3 separate regions of the Homo sapiens genome follow, and regions 1 and 2 are each linked to region 3. The links are contacts of gene promoters, found by promoter capture Hi-C in human tissues and cell types (Jung and others, 2019). All regions are on one chromosome and are shown on one strand. The core of a region is centred on a gene start or on the middle of the fragment in contact, and the rest is flanking DNA. Distances in the headings are between cores, read along the strand shown.

Region 1 (3,882 bases), core at 882-3,381, 400 kb after region 3:
TATTCACACAGGAGACTGATAGAGAATAATGAGAATTACTATTTATCCAAAAACGTTTCTATTTAACACCAGTCTGATCTCTCATTTTTGCTTAATGGCTTTGGGTACTGCTGTTCAGGGAAATGGCTTCCTTTCAGATGTGTTTCTCATAGTCTCGGCTAGAAATATTTGGCATGCAGGGCATGCCAAATACTAAGGGCAGGTGAGGCTCCAGGGAATGGGGCTTACCTGGGGTGACCACAACCTGGGTCCCTGCTCCAAACTGGAATTTCCCCCAGCTGTCAGTTGTCACACTGTGACAAACACCTCTACAAAATGGCTTCCCCAGAGAAGACAGCTGCTGAATGAAGACAAACTGCTCATGGGGAAACAATCTTGCTACAAAATGAGGCAACTGCATGATATGAGATATAAGCTTTTCCCCCTTTCTCTTTTAATTTCTCTTCTTTCAAGACACTAAGGATGGTGTGTGCCAAGAGCTGCACCTCCTGGGCGGCAAGGGCAGAAAGCCAGACTGCTGGGGTCAGTGAAGCCTGGGCGTCCGCTTTAGATGCTGCAGGGATAGAAACCCACCAGCCTAGGCGTTTACTCAAGGTCAGACCCAGTCCTCAGCACTACTCAAATGACAGCTGATCACAACGGTTGCCCTGTCATTTAAATAACTTGGTGTTTTGAGTTCACGAGCCTACTGGAAAAACTACTGCAGGTTGCTTGGGATCTGTTCCTATTGGAAGAGTGTTAATCACTGGCCTCTACTTGCCTGAGCTTGTTTGTTTGTTTGAGATGAAGTTTCGCTTTTGTTGCCCAGGCTGGAGTGCAATGGCATGATCTTGGCTCACTGCAACCTCCGCCTCCCGGGTTCAAGCGATTCTCCTGCCTCAGCCTTCTGAGTAGCTGGGATTACAGGTGCGTGCCACCACACCCAGCTAATTTTTTTTATTTTTAGTAGAGACGGGCTTTCACCATGTTGGCCAGGCAGGTCTCGAACTCCTGACCTTCAAGTGATCCACCTGCCTCAGCTTCCCAAAGTGCTGGGATTACAGGCATGAGCCACTCTGCCCCGCCCTGAGTTTCAAAATCTATCAAATGGGGATGACTATGCTGGAGTCCCCTTCTGAGGAAGACCTTGTTCTCAGATGGTTCTTATTCAAGTCTGACAGAGTGGAGGGGTCTCAAGGCTGGGCTTATTGGTGGGGTCCTGGTGGGTTTCTTCCCCTCCACACCTCTTAAAGCTCCTTCAAGGATGAAGAAGGTGACGAGGTACTGGGCCTTGGTCTGCTCAACACCTTTAATGTCCTCCTGACCCAAGGAGGCACCCGTGGAAAAGAGGGCAAGTTTTCCTCTTGGAGATAATCATATTCAGCACATATAAATTATATGTCACTTACTTGGCTTGACAAGCAGCCTTGTCCCCTTCCCAAAGATAAAGGAGAAGCCTTGTCCTTCTGCATAGTGATTATCTCAGCATCAAAAACCTAACAGCTCAGCTTTCCCCGACACAAAGCCCTCCTGAGAAGGGACCCTCCAAAGGAGTGCATTTCCTCCAGCGTTAATCACACGGCCTTGTGATTTTCCTTCCCGAAAATGAACCCTTCCTCTGTATTGTCCTTATGGTTCTGTTTCTCATTCCTTTTTTAACCTTCTTCTCCATCACCACTCCTGAGGTCACGGTGGACTCCTGGCCTCAAGACCCTGCAGCTTCTCCCCACATCAAGCACTGGACTCATTTTCTATCTCCACTTAACTGTACTTACAGGGCAGCACGGACAATCTGGTTCCGGGACCAAAGACAAAATTCTGACCATAGTTATCCCCACAGTGTTTCTGGGCTCAGCAAAAACCCCCTAGAGCTTCCTCCCTCCAGCCTGGGCATCTCAACACCACAAACAACACAGCACTCAGAACCTGTGTTTTTGGCTTTAAAGGGATAAAGCCAGCCCATTTATCAAGTCAAGTCTTGAGAACAAAGGGAGTTTGGTAACCACTAAGCCGGCAAAGGTTCCAAACTTAACAACCCAGCAACCCCCTGTGTCCTGGAGGATGCAGCTCTGCATTAATGAGCCTGGGCCTTTTTCATGGAGACAGGCTCTGGGGGCTGGAAAGAGGCTTTAAGAGGTTCTCTCATTTCTCCTCCTGCCTCGAGGCAGGGCTGCACTCCAATCACCTCTGATAGCAGGGTGTCTATCTCCTTTCAAAAACTCTCTAGAGAAAGTGCCCTGGCAACTACTCCTGACAGCTCATTTTCACTGTTCAAAAACCTATTAGAAAGGTTTTACCACTAACCTAACTCCCTTCTTGCAGTATTAGCCATGTCCTGTGGTCTGAATCCTGGTGGAGGTGGAGAGCCGAGCCCCTCCGTCTTCTGTTTAATGCTTCCTTTCCCAGATTTAGATGTGTGACTTAACTCCCACCTTGCCCTCAACCTCTTTTCTTTGAAATAAACTGCCTCATTTTGCCTCTGCAGACTTTACTGATCCTCTACCTCCAGGTTGGAGAGTTTCATTTAGTGGCTATTTTCAGGAGCCATATTTCTCATGAGCTTCACTACCCTGAAGAGGAGAAGGACAACCTTGGGATAGATCGCCCTTCCCATAAAGTTTCCATCTTCCCTCTGTCATTGCCCCTCCACATGGGGAGCCTGTCTTTTGGGAAGGGGCTCGGGACACCTTAAAGGAAATCATGCTGGGGTCATTTTGGTGATGGGGAAGTACAAGGTTTCAGTTCTGCAACCTTTGCCCTGCCATCCTGTGAACCGCATCCCTGCTCCAAGCGTGTGTGTGTAGCCTTGAGGATCCCAGCTATGCAGCTCTCTGCAGAAACCTCTCCCCTGCCTCTGACACTTGGATGATTTTGTATTTAAATTAGTCAGGATTCTTTGTATTTCCACTTTCAAATCCCAGGTGAAGAATTTCATAGAACAGGCTGACATTCTCCACCCTCCCCCCAATTCCAGCTCTGCTGCTGATGCACAACAGAACCTTGACAGAAGAGCCCCAGGGGCCAAACAAAGGCTCTGCTGTGGGTTAGAGATGATGTTTATCATTATTATTAATAGCGAGGGTTTAATGAGCTTTTTCTATGTTCTGAGCACTATGCTAACTACTTTAGCTGTATTATTTCATCTTTACGATGACTCAACGAGGTAGGAATATTTTTATCTTCATTTTGTGGATGGGGAAACTGAGGCTCAGAGAGATTAAGTAACTTGTTCAAGGTCACACAGCTAGGTAAGTAGTGGAGCAAGGACTTGAATTCAGGTTTTTCTGTTTCCAAAGCTTGTGCTATCCTGCTTAATCCATTATTACTTGAGCTCAAAATGTCCAGAGGGGACCCATGACACGTCAGAGGTGCTGCAGAGGTGGGCTTAGTGCTCAGCCTCATATTCTATGGCAGTTACTTGATTCTCAATCCAGATGTACAGAGTTCTAGTGGTTCTTTTCAAGTAGATATTTAAATCGCAGCAGGGAGATCAAACTTAGATATGAGAAGTACTTTCTGGCAATAAGGGTTGCCAAATTTTGGAATTAATTACAGAGAGATATTTCCCATCCTAGACCATCCGATATAGTGCAAGCACATCCTATATGGCCAGAGATCCTGCTGGGAAGCCTGGTCAGGGGTGGTGGAGAACCTTCCTGACAGCTCCATTGGCTCATTATTGTTTGTTTCTCTATTTCTTTCAAAATGTTGTATATGCTCCTGAGAAGCCCTTACCATGAGCTAGAGCAAGAGTCTGCATGTGGGCATGCGTGTGTGCATACATGCACTCATATCTCATTTTAAAGCAGGGAAGAGAACCAACTCTCTTTGGCCTGGGGAAAGAACATTAATAAAGAGCCCAACCAGATGCATAGGATTAAAGTCTTTTTCAAACTAATGGTT
Region 2 (3,863 bases), core at 919-3,418, 290 kb after region 3:
CCATGCTCTTTCTACCAGAAGTGTTTCACTTAAAATATTTGAGAACTCATAGACTGTCTCAGAAGTCTTTCAAACCACTGACCAAAAGCTTCTAAGCTTGGATTTAAAACCAGCAACATACGTCCAAGTTTCCACTGGTGAACCCTTAGCCTAGCAGTTCCATTCTCAGCCCACAGCAAACACTTCCTTCTTATAGACCTTTTCATGCTTTGTGGGGTTGATGTGTTTGTTTGTCTGTCTTTGTTAGGGGTGGCAAATATTTGAGTCTCACAGCACCAAATATGTTAGCAGTGGAAGGCATCCAGGCTACCAGAGGCGAATCCATACGGGTCTGCAGCAACCTCAATCCTTGTCTCCTCAGAAGAAAGAATTTGACTGAGGGGCATAAGATGGAAAAAGAGACCATGGGAAGTTTCAGAGCAGGGGTGGAAGTTTATTTAAAAAGGCTTTAGAACAGCAAAGAAAGGAAAGTATGCTTGGAAGAGATCCAAGTGGGCACCGAGGTAAAGTGCAGTGTTTAACCTTGATCCTAGGACTCTATAGGCTGGCCCCTTTCCCATGATTCTTCCCTTAGGGTGTGCTGCCTGCACGTGCAGTGCCCCCCTTACCCTTGGGAAGTGAGCACACACATTGTGTTTAGGAAGTTGTACCCACGCCCAACTGAGGCTTTCTTCCCTTTTCCGGTGGAGTGCCCCTGGAAGGTCATACTCCGCCATTTTGTCTCTTAATATGCATGCCCAAAAAGATGCTTCTTCCTGGCATCTGTATTCAATTAACACTTCAGTGCAACAGGTGTGGACCCTCAGGATAATGGCGTCTCCCTGGCTGCCAATTTATCACTTTTAGAGAGGCAATGTGACAAATCCTGAACCATCACCTGACATTCCTAGTTGGTGGAGGATAGCCCTCTCCTGCCCCACTCATGCCTGACTACCTGTAACATCTTCCCCAAGAAATAGCAAATCCCCTTCAGTGCAGAAGATTGGTTGATATTAATTTGGGGGTCTCCTACCCTTTCTCCCAGAAACCTACATCAGTGTTTCACATACCAGATATGCTCAGTAAGTATTTACTAAATAAAGTGAAAATATGTGCAGTTATCAAAAGTCCTTTTTGAAAATGTAAATTTTAGCTTGGATTTGGGTTGGAGTATTCCCACTAAATAAAGCAGTCCAGCCCCTTAGAAAGGAGGAAGAAGCCTGCAGGCACTAGGAGGACCCCCTGAGGGGCAGTGAGCATCAGGAAAGGGTAATGGGTTCAGATACAGGGAAAGGGGCATGAGGGAAAAGTTCATCTGCTTGCACACTTTGCCTTAGCTGTCTGTACTTGCTCCCAATTCTACACTCATTCTAGTTCCAAGACCAAGTGGGAGGTAGCTTCTGCTGTAAACTCCTTAGAAAACAGAGCCTTAGAGATGGCCAGTGGTCCAGTCCCAGAAAGTCTGGGGATTGGGGGAGCATGTCAAAGTGTCACAGACCTCTCTAGTCTATGACATGATTTTTATTCTTTAATATATCTGTGGCATCCACAGCCTGCATCTGCCTGTGGCCTCCATTTACTCTCCCAGTAGCTCCAGAGAGTTTCTCCAGGATGCAGCTGGCAGAACCTAGGGGGCCGGGGGTGGCCTTGGCTTCTGAAGGTGTACAAGGGGGTCTGACACTCTGTAGCTGTTGGGAAATAGAATTAAAAACAAAATCTATTCCCAGCCCAGAAAACTGCCCCACAAAGGTTGTGCACATGTACCCTAAAACTTAAAGTATAATAATAATAAAAAAAGAAAACAAATAAAACAGTTTTATTATTGAATAAGCATTAAACCAGAATATAATGCTCATCACAGGCAATTTTCTAAAAAGATTGCAAAGACGGAAAGAAATTTCACCCTTTTATAAAGACATATTAATAAAATTAATTCCATACATTTTCTCTAGATAAACAACAACTAGTCCTCAAGTAAAAGGACTTGACAACCCCACTTGTCACACACAGTTTGTCCTCAGTTCACTTGGTAATTGGGGTGAATCATCTGTTCTATCTAATTGGCTTTATGACAAGGAAAAATAAACTTTACATATCTTTATAACAGGAGGTAGTTTAGGAGCAAGAGGTTCCTCCCCTCCCACCAGGACTGGGACATACAGGTGCTATCTTCCTTGATGATTTCAAAGAGATATTTCCCAGGTCCTTAAGAAAGACATTCCTGGGTTGTAATGCTGTTCAGAGGATTAGTTAACATTTAAAAAGTTTTATTTATAGTTCAAAGAGACAGAGAAAGAACTCATATATTTTTTGAGGTAAATGTGTAAGGAAAGGGAAGAGGGAGAAGTTTCTTCCTTTATTTTCAGCAGAGAAAAACAAGCCACTTATTTTGAATTTGCACTTGCCATTACGCAGCCCTGAGGCTTGGAGGAGGGGCGGGAGACATTCTGCCAATGCTCTTTGCGTCCGCCTGCTTTGCCAATTTTGGCGTATGTTTGTTCAGGATCCCTACAAAACAAGGTGAGCAGACCTGATTCCTGTCTGAGGGGCCTCATTCCCGAAACTGACATCACAGGTGTAAACCAAAGTTAGAATCAATTTTGGAAAACTTTTTTGTTTTTAATATTTTTAATTATGAAAATCCACATTCACTGTAAAATTTTAGCCAGTACAGAAGTGTATAAAGTAAAACATGAAAAGTCCTGCCAGCCAATTCCATTCTGTAGCAGTCAACATTGTTAGTTAAACATATATATATATATATATATATATATTTTTTTTTTTTTTTTTTTTTTTGAGACGGAGTCTCGCTCGGTCGCCCAGGCTGGAGTGCAGTGGCATGATCTTGGCTCACTGCAATCTCCGCCTCCTGGGTTCAAGTAATTCTCCTGTCTCAGCCTCCTGAGTAGCTGGGATTATAGGTGTGAGCCACCTTGCCCAGCCTAGGATGCTTATACTATATATGTATATATTCATTCATATTCACACATATAACTTTTGTTTTACAAAAAAGAAAGCGTTATATGAATTGTCTGCAACTTGATTTTTAAAATCTTCCCATGTCAATACTGTCAACAGAAAGAGTCAAACTGTAGAATAATTGAAGAGATTTATTCTGAGCCAAATGTGAGTGACCACGGCCTGTGACACAGCCCCAGGAGATCCTGATGACATATGCCCAAGGTGGTCAGGCTACAGCTTGTTTTTATACATTTTAGGGAGACATAAGACATCAACCAGTACATGTAAGATGTGCCTTGGTTTGATCTGGAAAGGCGGGACAACTCAAAGCAGGGAGGCGGTTGAGGGTGGAGGCATTGAGGAGGGTGGGGACGAAGAAGGGCTTCCGTGTCAAAGGTGAATTCAAAGATTTTCTGATTAGCAATTGGCCGAGAGTTTATCTAAAGCCCCGGAATTAATAAAAGGGAGTGTCTGGGTTCAGATGGGTTGTGGAGACTGAGGTTCTTATTATGCAGATGAAGTCTTCAGGTAGCAGGCTTCAGAGAGAACATCAGACTTAAAGAGACAGCTTTGCAGGGCCATTTCAAAATATGTCAAAGCAATATATTTTGGAGCAAAATACTCGGTTTCTTTCAGGGCCTGCTATCTTGGTCTGCATATTGTTATCTTATTGCTACCAAGAATCTGTGCTGCCTGTCTTAAGGTATAAGACTGTTTTAATGTTAATGCTGGTCAGCTGTGCCTGAATTCCAAAGGGAGGAAGGTTTAAGGAGGCATGTCTGACCACCCATTCTCATCATGGCCTGAACTAGTGTTTCAAGTTTACTTTAGAATGCCCTTGGTCGAGAGGAGGGGCCCATTTAGTTGGTTCGGGGTGCTTAGAATTTTATTTTTGGCTTACAGTACCCATAAAATTCCATAAT
Region 3 (3,575 bases), core at 641-3,140:
GAAGGCCAAACCATCTGTGTGCGTTTCTGGCGATGCAGCAATTCCAAGAAGGTGTGGTATGAGTGGGCTGTGACAGCACCAGTCTGTTCTGCTATTCATAACCCCACAGGCCGCTCATATACCATTGGCCTCTAGCCCTGCGTGCCAAGTGTCCAGAGCCTTGGAAGCAGCTTCAGGTTCTGCTCCTGTAGTACAGAAGGTGCAGTACATCTATGGGCTGTGATTCCCCTTGCCCATCAGAGAGGAGCATTTCAATCTGCTTTCCTGCCTTACATCAAGGTGGGCAAGGGATTATAATTAATTGCAGGGCTCAAGCCACCAATCTATGAAGACCTCAGGCCAGGGGGTGAGGAATTAGTGCTGGATTTGAAGCTACGCACTCAGCCTCAAGAACTCCCTGGAATATCCCTGAGAACATGGGGTTTGAACGGATTTTCAGCCTTTTTCTGTTCTTGTTTTGATGGTTTTGTGTAAGAGGAAATACAAATAAAGTTATAGCCCTTTACTGCACGACCATGCTGCCCCCTGCCACTATTTTCCCACACCTCACTTAGACCCAGGCATGTTCAGATCTGTCCTCTTAGCCTATCCAAGACCCAAAGGGGCCTAGTTGTATTCCCTACTTAGGAAGCTGAGCAATGACTATTGTAGTCCTGGATATAGGCCTTTCTGACCAGCTACAGTGAGCTCTTGTCCATTAGAACCTACAGTTAGGCTTTTCTCTGGGGAGGAGGCATAGAGTTTGCCACCTTGGAAAAAGATGGAATAGTGAGTGAAGCCAGTTTCTCTTCTGTATTCTTGAGCTACTGCACGGGCAACTGGTTACCTCTCCTTTGTTACCTCTTGGGAAGACTGGAATCCATCCAGGAATCTCCAGCAAGAAGCTACCTGTTTTTTTTGAATAAAACCACAGGGTTACAGTTTGAAGTCCTAAGAGATCATCTAGTCCAATTTTCCATTTTACAGAGGGGGAGTTTGAAATGGGTACAATGATGTGATATTAGTATCCAAGTCAGAATTGGAAGTCAGGTCCTCCGACTCTGGCTCTCCCCATGTTATAACCAGCTACATTTTTGGTAGCTACAGTAGACCACAGAAGTGTCTAGGGGCTCCTGGAGGCCCCTGGAAAGTGAGGGTGGACATCAGTTCCTTCTTTCCGGTTAGAGGACTCAGTACTGCTACATCCAAGGAGTCACCTGAGAAACTTTCAAATTTACCCTTGCAGTGGGAAATGTGGGGGTACTGATTTGAACGGAAGTTATGACCTGTGGGAGCAGGCCATGACGATAGGGCAGAGTGTGGGCCAAGACAAGTCTGTGGCAAGATCTGCTTTTCCCTGGTCCCAAGCACCGAGGTCAGGAGAGGTGGTCGGGAAGGTTGTTTAGGTAGCCGGCTCAGAACGGGGATTTCGAGTTCAGCATCCCCGGACGTTAAACAAACGCCGCTGTTCTCTACAAAGCTTAACCTTAACGACCGACGTGACTCCTTCAGCAAATCCGAGTAGGGACGGCCAAGGATGTAAATTGTGCCTCCTCGTTGGCTCCGCCCATCGCACTGGTCTAGTCTACGCGAGCACCAGGAGTGGGGTTGGTGGCTTCTTCACTCCCGTTTTCAGTCCCGTTTTCCCCGCCCTCCGCAAGTCATTTAACCAATGAGAGAGTGATGGGCGGCTACCAAAGGACGCTTCCATTTTCTGGAGTCTCTGAGGTTAGCCAATCAATGGGAACTCGGTGGTTGCTAAGACGCATTTGAGTTTGCTCCACCCATACTTAGGACTTTAGCCAATGAGAACCTGTACTTTGGACGGTTGCCGCGAAACCAGTGAGGTTATTTCCAAAGCCGGGGAGTCTTGGCGCATGCGCAGATTGGGGAAGGTTCTGGAAGACGGCAGAGCTGCCGCCATTTTGCGGGAAGAGGAGGCTCTGTACCTGCAGTGCTGCTTTTCTTGCCTAGACTCTAGGAACTATCCGAGCTCCACTCCCCACAACATACTCAAAGGAACGGAGAGAACCGGGACCCCCCTGCGGGGACCCGGAACTGGTGAGAAACCCCAAAACCCGGTCCCCACCAGACGTCACCAATGCGTGACGTTGCTGCACGGCGCCTCCCCCCTGACGTCACGGGCAGAAAATGGCGTCACGAAGAGATTCAGGCGAACTTTTAACATTAAAAAAACCTTTGTTTGTTTTGACCTGGAAGTGTTAGCTACTTAAATGTAGCCCACTGCCACGATTTTAGAGTTGGGCACCCTCGTGGCTGTATCTTGCACCGATAAAGATGCGGTTTCTAGAATCCTGTGATTTTTCTTTCCGGGTCTCTGCAGCCGTGACACTTAGGGTCGCCCACACTGGAGAGGGAGCATCGACCCTCCGCGGCCTGAGAGGACACGCATCATCAGTTTCAGCCACTCGCACCACCATTCAGAGAGAGAGAAGGGAATTGAGCTTTCTTCCTCAATCTCTAGTCTGTCGAAGATTCATGTTCACTATGTTGACCTTTATGGGCTTTTCCCATTTAACTTTTTCAAGCACTCATTCCAGTAGGCGTATTATGATGCCACATATGAAGATTGAGCCCTGGGACACTGGCTCCCGCAGAGATTGTGCCAGTTGGTTGCCTATAGGACCTCTTTTTTTTTATTTTTTTAAGGCGGAGTGTCGCTTTGTCACCCAGGCTGGAGTGGAGTGGCGCGATCTCGGCTCACTGCATCCTGTCTCCCGGGTTCTAGCGATTCCCCTGCCTCAGCCTCCCGAGTAGCTGGGATTACAGGCGCCTGCCACAACGCCCGGCTAATTTTTGTATTTTTAATAGAGATGGGGTTTTGCCATGTTAGCCAGGCTGACCTCGAACTCCTGACCTCAGGTGATCCACCCGCCTCGGCCTCCCAAAGTGCTGGGATTACAGGCGTGAGCCACCGCGCCCGGCCTATAGGACCATTTTTTAAAGCTACACAACATGGGGAGGGTGGTCCTTCAAGTAGCTTTTATCGTTCTCATTGTTCCTCTTTTGTTAAGCTGCCTTCAGTTTGTAGGTGTTTGTGCCCAGCTAAGTGATCAGACCCTGGGGATGGCGCTACCATCACCCCTGGGGCTCCAGCTTTTCGTGAATTCTTCCCGAATTGGTCTGACAGTGGTTCTCTCTGCTCCTTTAGCAGTGGGGTCTATCTGTTGGCTTGTGCTATGACGAGGTCTAGGAACTGACGTGATTGTGGGTCTCTAATACTGTTTTTGGAGCAGGATGGAAGAAAACATACTCTATGTGGATGAGATTGAGTGGACCTTGACCCATAAGTTGGGACATGAAGAGAGCGTTTGAAAACTACCAACCTGGGCCGGGTGCAGTGGCTCACGCCTGTAATCCCAGCACTTTGGGTGGCCGAGGCGGGCGGATCACGAGGTCAGGAGATCGCGACCATCCTGGCTAACACGGCGAAACCCCGTCTCTACTAAAAATACAAAAAAAAAACAAAAAAGAAGAAAAAAGAAAAAACTACCAGCCTGAAAATGCATAGTGTTTGCTACCTTATTGCTTTTAGCACATCTAGAAAGACACTAAACCCAGTGAGATTGCAAGTT

What was found. The method cuts DNA at HindIII sites, captures the fragments that hold promoters and counts their contacts. A contact is called where the count stands out against the background at its distance.
Region 1: a contact is called between a fragment that was not itself captured here and the fragment with the promoter of RBM23 in region 3, in 1 of the 25 tissues and cell types used here (heart left ventricle).
Region 2: a contact is called between a fragment that was not itself captured here and the fragment with the promoter of RBM23 in region 3, in 1 of the 25 tissues and cell types used here (H1 embryonic stem cells).

What each region holds. Positions count from the first base shown.
Region 1 is chr14:22,516,378-22,520,259 of GRCh38, reverse strand. It overlaps TRA, TRAJ26, TRAJ25 and TRAJ24. Among named protein-coding and RNA genes, the nearest start is that of TRD-AS1, 35 kb to the right of the region's middle. RefSeq lists an enhancer at 2,344-2,453. The HindIII fragment of the contact is 4,026 bases long and covers 119-3,882 here.
Region 2 is chr14:22,626,266-22,630,128 of GRCh38, reverse strand. No RefSeq gene overlaps it. Among named protein-coding and RNA genes, the nearest start is that of OR6J1, 16 kb to the left of the region's middle. The HindIII fragment of the contact is 6,013 bases long and covers 1-3,863 here.
Region 3 is chr14:22,917,464-22,921,038 of GRCh38, reverse strand. RBM23 (RNA binding motif protein 23) reads left to right here and starts at 1,890. Exons shown (of 14, transcript NM_001077351.2): 1 at 1,890-2,040. It overlaps PRMT5-AS1 (PRMT5 antisense RNA 1), which reads right to left and starts at 1,583. Exons shown (of 2, transcript NR_120600.1): 1 at 1-1,583. It overlaps PRMT5 (protein arginine methyltransferase 5), which reads left to right. Exons shown (of 17, transcript NM_006109.5): 17 at 1-510. The coding sequence ends at 135. RefSeq lists a silencer at 1,516-1,815 and enhancers at 2,076-2,145, 2,236-2,345, 2,416-2,585, 3,074-3,575. The HindIII fragment of the contact is 12,061 bases long and covers 1-3,575 here.